Regions from separate parts of the Homo sapiens genome. Here region 1 is linked to region 2. The links are contacts of gene promoters, found by promoter capture Hi-C in blood cells and fetal thymus (Javierre and others, 2016). All regions are on one chromosome and are shown on one strand. The core of a region is centred on a gene start or on the middle of the fragment in contact, and the rest is flanking DNA. Distances in the headings are between cores, read along the strand shown. Region 1 holds the start of HDAC8 (histone deacetylase 8). Region 2 holds the start of JPX (JPX transcript, XIST activator).

What was found. The method cuts DNA at HindIII sites, captures the fragments that hold promoters and counts their contacts. A CHiCAGO score of 5 or more calls a contact.
Region 1: a contact is called between the fragment with the promoter of HDAC8 here and a fragment that was not itself captured in region 2, in 1 of 17 cell types (total B cells). The highest score is 5.3, in total B cells.

The regions. Positions count from the first base shown.
Region 1 is chrX:72,567,954-72,574,143 of GRCh38, forward strand. HDAC8 (histone deacetylase 8) reads right to left here and starts at 4,890. Exons shown (of 11, transcript NM_018486.3): 1 at 4,698-4,890; 2 at 4,104-4,156; 3 at 801-931; 4 at 1-77. The coding sequence starts at 4,808. RefSeq lists an enhancer at 4,853-4,982. The HindIII fragment of the contact is 11,149 bases long and covers 1-6,190 here.
Region 2 is chrX:73,940,811-73,946,853 of GRCh38, forward strand. JPX (JPX transcript, XIST activator) reads left to right here and starts at 3,514. Exons shown (of 5, transcript NR_024582.1): 1 at 3,514-3,655; 2 at 3,774-3,852. RefSeq lists an enhancer at 3,539-3,638. The HindIII fragment of the contact is 2,079 bases long and covers 1,755-3,833 here.

The DNA of each region.
Region 1 (6,190 bases), core at 3,640-6,139, 1.4 Mb before region 2:
TTGGGCAGCTGTGATCGTAGCCCCTCCTATAGCTGCTGCATAGTCAAATATCCCTTCAGTGGCTGGGCAGTCATAACCTTAGGGCAAAAATCAGAAGAGCTGGTTAAAAGGTGAACTGGAAAAAGAGGAGGAATAGGTTGAGGTGTGACAACAACCTAACCTACTAAAAAGCCACTGTGCTAATATCAGCTCCAACTGAGACAGAAACAACTCCAATGTTGGGGATATAATATTTTAAAAGGTTAGAGCTAGAAAGGATAAACCCTCCTGATGAACTAGTCACAGGCTACAGATAGAGAAACCAAGCCTGAGAGGTGATGTGTCTTGTCAGTGGTCACACAGAGCCAGGCTTGGGACCCAGCTCTGTTGACCCCCCAGTTCAATGTTCCTCTGCTAAACCATGCTGTTTTTCTAGACTATCCTGCAGGTCACTTACAGTTTTAAAAAATGCAGCTGTTTAATGAGGGGTGAGGTACAAAAACTTAGCCAGAACATAAATCTGTACTCCAGTTAAAATATAAGGTCACAGGACAGCTAAATCAGCATATACACAGCCAGACCAGATCTGAGCACTGCCAGTAGGGCATAAGCAACTGAAAGGTTTTCTTTCATCTAACCCTTCATGTGGTTTTGCTCAACTCATATGGTTTGCTTGTTTAGTGAGTTATATGTGGCTAAACCAAAAGATTAAGATTGACAGTTAACACATGATTTCTTAACGAAAAATATTAAAAAAATCATACAAGTTATAAAAAAAATTAGTCTGTCCATCTCCCATCACTGCCTGGTAATGACTTTACCTAGCCCATATTCTATGGAGTCCGGATGATCATCATCGCCCTCTTGGCTGACCTTCTGGAGATGCTGCAGATAAGCATCAGTGTGGAAGGTGGCCATCTCCTCCATGGAGGCCACTTTAGGCTTAACTATCCTAATAATAACAGAGAGAACAAAGAGAGGTCAGTGAGTCAGACCCAGCGTATGCCAGAAGCTAGAAACAGAAGCCAGCAGTCTGAGAAGAAAATACGTCTCAACTTCTGGTTCCAATAGGCTGGAGTAATAAACATATTCTGTTCTTCCACTGCACTGTGCGGTCTTCACTGCCTCACATCTACAGTAGTGACTCTATTAATAAGGGGCAAGAAGATAGATTTTCCCTTGAGTTTATAGGTAAGTAAACAAAAGTAATTATATTCAAGTTAAACAAATAATCAGGTATCAGACAGACTTTACCCTGTGAGTTACAACTTTCAGGACAAACTAGTAGGCAGGGATATTTTCATTTGAACCAGTTGCGAATTGGGCTATCTAATCCTTTCAGCTATATCTTTATTTTAATAGGCAGCTATGTTATCATGCATTTTGAATTTGGAGTCAGATTTGGAGTCAGAGAATTGGGTTCCTGTCCTAATTCTGTACTTACTAGCTCTATAACCTCAGATAAGTCAACTGTTCTGTAGTTCAGTTTTCTTATTTGTAAAATGGGGAACTTTATGGGACTTATGTGAAGATAAAAGGATAACACATACAAAAATGCTTGGTGGATAACTATCATTCTATTAACAGATAAAAAATGGGCAACCCAAAATGTAATGTTTCTAGACTTGGACCCTCCTATCTGCCTCTGAGAGCGAGGCGAGAAGGGGCAAAATGGTTGGAACCGGACTTCACTCAGAACCTCTCAACCTACTCCTCACGAAAAATGACAAATAGAAGCGAGTGAGGGAATAAAGGGAGCTAACCCAATAAGAGGCCTTACCACATCTAACCTCTAGCTGCCTATTCCCCATTTCCTCTTCTTGACCCCACAGCTGCCACTACTGTTCTCTAGCCCTTGCCACTTAAAGGGTGGTCCATAGACCAGGAGCATCAGCATTCCCTGGGTGCTTGTTAGAAATGCAGAACTTCAGACTTGCCTCAGACCTGAGTCAGAATTTGTATTTTAACATGATGATTTTTAAACAAGATGACACATTTTAAGGTGATTCATATACACATTCAAGTTGAAGGAGCCCTGACCTGGGCCACAGGGAGGCAGCAGTGGTTTTAAATGTCTGCTGAATGGGAACACAGCCATGAGTTTACGATGAATGAATACGACTATACAGGCTACTACTATCACCAAGGTAGCTGGAAGAAATCCTGTGGTTTGGCCTCAAAAGTGAAATACATAGCCAAGACCCAAGAATTCTTGCTTCTTCTTAAAGAAGACAAATCTATACCACCAGAGGTGAAAAATCTACCCATTAAAATAAAAATTTTGTAATATCTCGGACCGTATTTCCCAGTCCTAAAAGCTCCCTCTTCTAGTACCCTTCCATTTATTTTGGTAAATGTTAAAAAACACTTACTGAAAACCTCCCTATTTAACAGTAAGCAAACTGGACAGTTTTGCTTTGCTTTGATATCTTGTTTGTCATAAAATAATTTTTTGAAATGTTAAATAACTTTAATGGAAGGCATATAGTTACTATGTTAACCAAACCATATGGGTTAAAAAATGGCTTAAAATGGGTGTGGTGACACGTGCCTGTAGTCCCAGCTACTCGGGAGGCTGAGGCAGGAGAATCGCTTGAACCTGGGAGGCGGAGGTTGCAATGAGCCGAGATCGCGCCACTGCACTCCAGCCTGCGCGACAAAGCAAGACTCCATCAAAAAAAAAAAAAAAAGGCTTAAAAATTCCCTTTAAAAGGTACAAAATGATTTTGTTAATAATAAGGATAAAATCTGAAAGCCTATTATTACACTACCTTCTGGGAGATAAATGAAGCATAGCACACTAGTTGGTATGAGCACTCACCTATTTGGCCAGAAATTGTCATAAGTAATCCTATATGTGGCAGGGTTATATTTGCTCTTATAACGACATCAAATACAGAAATGGCAATAAACAGCAAGTTCATGTTTTTGGAAGAAACAGTTAGCTCTCTCTTGAGTTCTGGCGCAGTCTTGGCAGTTTTCTTTGGTCTTTTTTGTTTGTTTGTTTTTTGAGACGGAGTCTCACTCTGTCACCCAGGCTGGGGTGCAGTGGCGCAATCTCGGCTCACTGCAAGCTCCGCCTCTCGGGTTCACACCATTCTCCTGCCTCAGCCTCCCGAGTAGCTGGGACTACAGGCGCCTGCCACCACGCCCGGCTAATTTTTTGTATTTTTAGTAGAGACGGGGTTTCACCGTGTTAGCCAGGATGGTCTTGATCTCCTGAGCTCATGATCCGCCTGCCTCAGCCTCCCAAAGTACTAGGATTACAGGCGTGAGCCACCACGCCCGGCCTTCTTTGGTCTTGATCTGTCTCCAGCCTCACCCATTAAAGTTTGGTGCTGGTGGTGGGTTGTCTAAAAGTCTTAGGTTGAACTCACACCCTCAAATCTGGCTTAGAATGAAACGAAATCAAAAGAAAAATGGAACACCTCCTAGCTGAACACCTTTTTGTATGAGACAGGTTTTAATACCCAAATGTACTCAAAATCTCCACAATGCACTGCACCTACCCCTGGGATACTTAACCAAGCAATCGAGCTGTATTTCTAATGAACCTTAACTGCTTCCTGCACTTTCCACTCCCCTGTCCCAAGTTTTCTTTTCTTTTTCTTTCTTTCTTTCTTTTTTTTTTTTTTTTTTTTTTTTTTTTTTGAGACGGAGTTTCACTCTTGTTGCCCAGGCTGCAGTGCAATGGTGCAATCTCGGCTCACTGCAACCTTCACCTCCGGGGTTCAAGCGATTCTCCTGCCTCAGCCTCCCGAGTAGCTGGGATTACAGGCGCCCGCTACCACGTCCGGCTAATTTTTTTGTATTTTTAGTAGAGACGGGGTTTTGCCATGTTGGGCAGGCTGGTCTCAAATTACTGACCTCAGGCGATCCACCCACCTAGGCCTCCCAAAGTGCTGGGATTACAGGCGTGAGCCATGCTCTCGGCCCCCCAAGTTTTCTTAATTCTTCAAGAGCTTTCTTGGGATTACAGGCAGATTACAAACACTGTGAATACTTTCACAGAAAGCTAAAATAATTTTTTCAAAAGACCATTCTTTTCCTTGCCCCACTGTGAAGCAGGATATTAAGGCTACGAACACCTAGCTTCAGGGCTATGTTCAAGAAAGACAACTTACCTCATCTGCTTATGCAGTGCATATGCTTCAATCAAAGAATGCACCATACTGGCCTAAAAACATCAGCGTAAAAAAAAAAAAAGAAAAGCAGAAATAGTCTCTTTAAAGTTTAATTCAGCAAAATCCCCGTCAATCTCACCATCCTGAACAAAGGAACGGATTAATTTTGTTTCAACTGGCTTCCCTTCTGTTAACAGTTACAATACACTTTAGACAATACAGATACAAAGTATCAAAATCACTAAGGTGAAAGCTACCGGGCCTTAGGCAGGTGATGGAACACCTTCCCCCTGCAGCTTGTTTTCCCACGACTTCAGCGGTCCCCTATGAGTGGAAACTGCGTCCTCTCCCCTCCTCCGTACCCCCTCCCCCACTCCTACCTGTCCATTGGACGTCCCGAAGAGACATGCTGCGCTCTCAGAAACGATATGAGAACACTTCCTTCTGATACAGCTTTAGGTATCTGATACAGCTACTCGAAATTTCTGAAGATTTCCCCCAGCCCAGTGTCCTCTCCGCTTCCTAACGCTCTTTCGTCCACCGCCCCCACCCCCACCCCCAAAGCCCATGGTCTTTCATCCCGACTTCCCTTACCCGTTTGGGGATCTTGGCCAGGGAGTCACACATACTGACATACTCGGGACTATAGATATAAACCGGGACCAGCGACTGCCCACTGTCCGCCGGTTCCTCCGGCTCCTCCATCTTCCGCTTAAAACCGTTCCGCAGCCACCTTCCAGATCTGGCTTTTTTCGGACTCGGCCAGGGTTCCAGTTCCTGCTCCTCTGATCGGCCGCAGCGGTGCTCCCTGGTCAACATTCCCTCCTATTCTTGAGATCGCCGGAGACACTATCACCGCTCCCCATCCTATTGAAGGAATGGATGGGACTTCCCAGACCAGACTCCCCTCATTTAGTGACCACAGTTCAAGGAAAAGGGTTTGGCAGATGTAAAAGTCCAAATAGCTGTCAATTAGGATCGATTGTTTTTATGGCACAAATAAGTAGGGTCAAAACTAACCATCCTTGTTGCCCTACGGGGCCATTTGAGATGAAGTCAGACCAGTTTCACAGCATGCTGGGAGATGTAGTTTCCGGAGGTTTGAGCAACGGAAGAGCCGGGGCTAAACACTAAAATAACCGCGATTTTTAGTTTCAGCGCTAAGACCAAAAAAAAAAAAAAAAAAAAGTAGCCTCAACTCTTTATGAATTGTTTCAATCTGCAAACACATCCATTTCATCCATTTAACCATATAAACACAGATAGAACGTGGCCACCTAGAGCCCCCACCATCCAGCTACATCAGCTGCCTATCCTAAGGATAGGCTTTTTTTTTTTTTTTTTTTTTTTGGTGGGGGCGCTATTTAATGGCACAAATGGTTTGAAAAGTTTACACAGTAAATTCTGTGATGCAATTTTATAGTTCATTTCTTTTCATCATTAACTATCCATGTCCACATGAGAGTTAACAATCTCAATAATTTACTCTGGCAAATCTGATAGTACTTTCCCAAGAGACTGGCTGGTGCAGTGGAAATTGCTTGGTAGATTCCGATCAAGCAATGATGTCAAATGTAACTCCTTGAACATTCATGTGGTAGGAAGGTTGCAAGCAGTGGTGTTTGGAAACTGCAGCTCTTCTCCTCCTACCTCCTCTTGTTTCTGCAGCTAAACATAGATTAGGGAAATATTTTAGGTTTGGTGTGAGGGTCCAGTTTAAGACTATCTGAGGCGGTTTTAGAATTACCATCAGCATTTGGAGGTTCCTGGAGGCCCCTATGATCTGATACAAGCTGGCCAGTGCTCAGGATCTTAATTCTCATGGCAACCTAAACTGACTGACTAACACCACTGGGACAACCTAATATCCTTACTATATTTAAAGTCTGGCTTGCTTTTTAGACTTTAAACATTTATTGAAGATTGTGACATGCACATTGGCCATATTATCTCATTTCATCCTTGCAACAGTCCTATAAAGGAGGTTGCAATACACCCATTTTACAGATGCAGTTTAGAGAAACAACATTCAAAATCACATACTTAACAAGCAGATAAGTAGGAATTCAAAATTAGGTCAGCCTGAC
Region 2 (6,043 bases), core at 1,544-4,043:
CACCGCAAATTGTACTTTTTTATTTTATTTTATTTTATTTTTGAGATGGTTTCACTCTTGTTCCAACTCATGTTTCAAATGAATTTGTTCTAGTGTAACTCAGCATCTATCATTTTAGCTGTTAAGACTGTTACTCATTTATTTGTCTTAAATTGTGAATGCAAAGATAACATGAACTATTGTCCCAGGGGTCATTGCCTTTGTAAATTTGTTTGTAAAATTTCCAAATAAGAGCCCTTTCTAAGCAAGTGCCTGCCAAATATGGCTGGATGATGGTAAAATCCCAACTCTCCTTTCACCTATTTGGATTTTATATTCTTTCAGGAGGCAGCTTTCTTACCTTTGGAACAATTACTTATGTAAGAGGAAAAGTGGGTTTCCACAGAGAATGAAATAGGTACTAGCTAGTTCAGTAGTCCAGGAAGCTACCAAGATCAGTCTTCAAGAGGAAATATTGTAACCTGGCAACCAAACTCTGTCTCTGGTGTTTTCTGGAGGCATTTTTCTTAAGTTGGAATTGAGGCAGGTAGACTAGGGGAAATGTGAGTGAGTGGAGGCAGGGGCATGAAGCTTGCACCGTGGCTGTGAATTAATATAGCTTTTCTGTCCCTGGGTCTCTGGGTCTAGCACTTTTCAATTCGAAACATTACCAAATAAAACCAGTGCATCAATTTGTTAAAAAAAAAAAATTGACTGGCAGCTTTATAAGCCTATTTCTCGAATAATGCTTCCTGCTGATTATTTCTTTATATGTGTATTTAAAAAATTCAGCCAGGCACGGTGGCTCATGCCTGTAATCCCAGCACTTTGGGAGGCCAAGGCGGGTGGATCACCTGAGGTCAGGAGTTCGAGACCAACCTGACCAATACGGTGAAACCTCGTCTCTACTAAAAATACAAAAATTAGCCAGGTGTGGGGGCCTGCGCCTGTAGTCCCAGCTACATGGGAGGCTGAGACAGGAGAATCGCTTGAACCCGAGAGAGGAGAGGCAGAGGTTGCAGTGAGCCGAGTTTGCGCCACTGCACTCCAGCCTGGGTGACAGAGTGAGACTCTGTCTCAAAAAAATAAAAAAAATAAATAAATAAAAAGTCATTTTCCTCCCAAACAGACAAAGTCCCAAGAGTCATCAGAACAAAACTGCAATAGATTTCATTTTTTTTTTTTTTGAGACGGAGTCTTGCTCTGTCGCCCAGGCTGGAGTGCAGTGGCGCTATCTCGGCTCACTGCAACCTCCGCCTCCTGGATTCAAGTGATTATCTCGCCTCAGCCTCTCGAGTAGCTGGGATTGCAGGTGCCCACCGCCACATCCAGCTAATTTTTGTATTGCTGTAATTGTTGGCCAGTCTGGTCTCAAACTCCTGATCTCAGGTGATCCGCCCACCTCGGCCTCCCAAAGTGCTGGGATTACAGGCATGAGCCACCGTGCCCGGCAGGTTTCACTCATTTTTATCCCCCTTTCTACTTACCATTAAATTACTACAGAGGGATGTTTTGTACCTGCCCCAAAATAAATGCATGGTGTGCTACTGCCAAAAGAAAATATGACAGAATTTACAGTCATATTTGCCTCCTCTGCAACATTCAGACTTGATCCTTCTTTTACCCTACATTGTCTATCTGATTCCCTACTCTTTTAGTACTAGTTCTTTCTTAGGAGCTCAACAGTTCCTTTTGCAATTGGTTTTTGGTGCCTGTCCTACAAATTTCCAAGATGTGCTCAAATATGCCTAAACCCTAGGAGATGAAACAGTTTAAGCTTAGAGACCTCTCCACCTCTATTACTGACCTTTGAACACGTAACTGGTTTTATGTGGTGTTTTTGGTGTTTTACTCCAAAATGTCCATATGTCAATGCCCAGATGTTTTATACAACTGTGTATCATTACCTTCCTTTTGAGGGTGACGATATCAAAATAAAGACAGAAAAGTAATGATGCAAATGAATAGAATAAGAGGTGTTCTATGTGGGGGTCTCGTAGAAAACCAGAGACAACATTAGTGCATAGAGAGAAACTATAGCTTTGGAAAGGGATTAGGACCTCTAAAGTGTCTTTTCCTTACCGGTGAAGCACAAGCCTTCCCCCAGAAACCTGCACCACTCACACATAATGCTTCACAAACAAGTTTTGGCCTCGGTTTTTTCATACTTTTGGGGCTGGTATCCAGCTAGTGTATTTTCCCTCATGGAGCGGGAACAACAGAGATAAAGGTTTTGATAAATATAGAGGCCTCTTAGAAGTGTCAGGACTGAATCTAAAAGAGCTGAATCTAAAAGAAGAGGGAGGCTGGGTGCGGTGGCTCACGCCTATAATACCAGCACTTTGGGAGGCTGAGGCGGGTGGATCACTTGAGGTCAGGAGTGCAAGACCAGCCTGGCCATGATGGTGAGACCCCCGTCTCTAGTAAAAATTAGCTGGACATGGTGGCAGATGCCTGTAATCCCAGCTACTTAGGAGGCTGAGGCTGGAGAATCGCTTGAACCCAGGAGGCGGAGGTAGCACCGAGCCAAGATCGCGCCACTGCACTCCAGCCTGGGCGACAGAGCAAGACTCCGTCTCAAAAAAATAAAACAAAAATAAATAAAAGAAGAGGGAAGATGGAAGGACTTTTAGGCTCAAGAGCAGCATCTCAACTCTTTTTTTTTTTTTTTTTTTTTGAGACGGAGTCTGGCACGGTCGCCCAGGCTGGAATGCAGCAGCACGATCTCAGCTCACTGCAACCTCCGCCTCCCGGGTTCAAGCGATTCTCCCACCTCAGCCTCCCAAGTAGCTGGGATTACACTGAGATTACAGGCAAGCGCCACCACACCTGGCTACCAACTCTTTTATGAAGACTCTTTTGTTTACAGAATTAAAGGAAGCACCTTGTTCTGAATCCAGTTTTGCCATTGACGGACTCACTGTATGACTAGGCCAAAACCCTCTGGTTTCTGTTTTCCCATTAGTTGGTTGAAGTACATACACCCTCATCTATCGGAACACGGGGCTTAGTAAAGTGAAAAGAAGTAGGTTCTAGCTCATTCTAGCACTTTTGGAAAATTGGGTCACCTCTTTGGGCCTTAATTTCGTCATCTATAAAACAGGAAAAAATCAGTCCTCAGCTTACCTGATGTTGCAATGACTTAGTGAGATAACAGAAGTGAATGGCAGCTTTGTCTATCATACTTGTGAGGTAAAGTTAATGAGAGTGAGAGATCTGGAAATAGGGAAGAAAGAAAGGAGTCGAGGCAAAGCTAAAAGAAATTTGGGTTGGGAAAGGAAAAAAGAAATGAAGAGAAAGAAAAAGGAAAAGGGAATTTCAAAAGAGATAAAGGCTGTGAGAGGAAGTGCAACAGGTCAGGAAACTGGGGGAGGGTCCACGGCAACGGCTGCGGCACGGCAACGGCTGCGGCACGGCAACGGCTGGGGCACGGCAACGGCTGGTGCATGTTGCCGGCGGAGGCATTTAGGTAGTGCACGACGGCTGGGCGCCGGGCCTGTTTGGCTGTGACGCCCACCCCCGGCTTTCATCCGCCTATGCCCTAGGGCTAGTGGAAGACTTAAGATGGCGGCGTTTGCACGGAGTGCAATCACTGCGTCCTTACGGGGGTTGCAAGGCGTCCGAAGTATGAGTCCACTAACAAAAGTCCAGAAACTCGCCAGTTAATAGTATTGTGGTGAGTGATGAGCCTCACGTTGGCTAGAGAAGTGGCCGTTAGCGAGGCTACACACTTTGGGATCGCGTGGCCTGAGTCGGGGGAGTAACCGGCCTGTATTCCATTTTTCTCTCTCCAGTCTCTTCAAAATATCGGAGAATAATTTCTTTCTCGCTGATCGCCTAACTTCTACTGACGAAGCTTGGAAGTTGCAGAAGGTAGCTCCTAGGAGGGATATATGGGTCGTTCTTTCCTTTTTCCTTATTTAAATGGGTTTTTATTGACACCATGTCGCGCCAAAATGGATTCCATCTCCTCAGAGCTTTCCTAGGAACAGCCTAACCTCTTGGGCCTAACTTTATTTTTTTTTTGTTCTGCCTTTCATGTCCAGACTTATTAGTTTTAATTAATTTGTTTGTAACGTATTCATTATGCACTAGATTAAACAATTTTTTTCTGTGCCCACTATACCCCAAATGTGGAGTTTTGGGCAAAAACTTAACATTTGTTCTTGAAGCATCTCAGAGGTGTGTGTGTGTGTGTGTAATCTTTGGGGGACTTACATTGCCAGGTTGATTACTCACTAAGAAAAGAGCTAGATTTCCTGTTTTCAAATCTGTTGGCGAAATTAAGTTTATGTTAAGCATAGCATGTTTACTATATATATGGGGAAGACAGTTAAGAGTGACATCTAATATGTTGTTAAATGCTTATGTGATTAAAGTAAATTTCATGCATTACCGCGGAGTATGAATTGCTGCAACCTTTTAGAAAAGAATCTGGCAATATTTAGGGAAATAAAAAATACAGATATCACTTGAACAAAAACTGGAATTCAAAAGTCTGACTTTTAAGAATCTATCCTACAGAAATAAAAGTACCAGTATATAATGACGCATGAACAAGGATACTTTTGTACTATTTTGTTCTTGTGACAACTGGAAACAACCTGTGTATCCATCAATAGGAGAATGTTTGAGTAAATTTTGGTACATAAATATTATGAAATATTTTGACTTTTGACCTAGAGAATCTTATGATGGATGGTTATGTGAGAAAAGTAAGTTGCAGAATAGTCTAGTATGAGTCCTTTTTTTTTTTTGATGGGGTGATGAAGGAATGCAAGATTAACTTCTTTATCTTTTGGAGGAGACGTTAAATATATTATGAAATACTTAAGACATATACAGATATACAAGGAATAATACAATGAACCTCTCTTCTCACCACCCAACGTAAAAAAAAAATCAAACATTAACGTGACAGTTGAAGTTCTCTGTGTACCCATCCCTGATTGCATCTCTCTCTTCTCTCATCCCCAGAGGTAACCATTATTTTAAACTTAGTGATTTTTACCATGCATTTCTTAAACTTCTGTGACATAGCAACTTCTAGCATGGATTATTTTTTGTAAATATTGAAGATGAATTTTTAAAAAAAGTCAATGAAAGAAGAAAGCAAGTGTCTATCTGACTTTTTTTTTTTTTTTTTTTTTGAGATGAAGTCTTGCTTGTTGCCCCGGCTAGAGCGTAGTGGCGCAATCTTGGCTCACTGCAACCTTCACCACCCCAGTTCAAGCGATTCTCCTGCCTCAGCCTCCCGAGTAGCTGGGATTGCAGGCGCCTGCCACTGTGCCCGGCTAATTTTAATTTAATTTTAATTTATTTTATATATATATAGAGAGAGAGAGAGGGAGAGAGACAGACAGACATGGAGTCTTGCTCTGTCACCCAGGCAGGAGTGTAGTGGCTCGATCTCGGTTCACTGTAACTTCCGCCTCCTGGGTTCAAGCGATTCTCATGCCTCAGCATCCAGAGTAGCCGAGATTACAGGCACACCTTGCCACGCCTGGCTAATTTTTGTATTTTTAGTAGAGACGGGTTTCCCTATATTGGCCAGGCTGGTCTCCAACCCCTGACCTCTGGTAATCTGCCTGCCTCGGCCTCCCAAAGTATTGGGATTACAGGCGTGAGCCACTGTGCCCAGCCTTATCTGACTATTACTGTAACAGTGGCCAATCAAAATTCCTTCTTTTCTTTTTTTTTTTCCTTGAGCCTAGAAATTTCTTAATTGAGGGGAGAATCTAGCAAGCAGTTGAGTCAAAGGGTGTAGATTATACTACAGTGGTAAAGAAAGTAAGCAGCTGGCAGTGAAAGCAATCTCAAGCAAATAATGAATGTTCCATGAACAAGATGCCTGAATTGAAAAACAGAACAAAACCAACTAACCAAACAAAAAACAATCCGTGGATCCTAACTCAAATCCAAGGTGATTTGAGCCTGCACTTGTAATTAGACAAAATCTATGAACTTCAGTTGCCTTGGAGGCATCTGAGGGAAATGAGGTTGCATGTAGATGAATCAGTTGTTTCTGGCATCATGTTAGTGTGATTACATTTAGCTGCTGTGT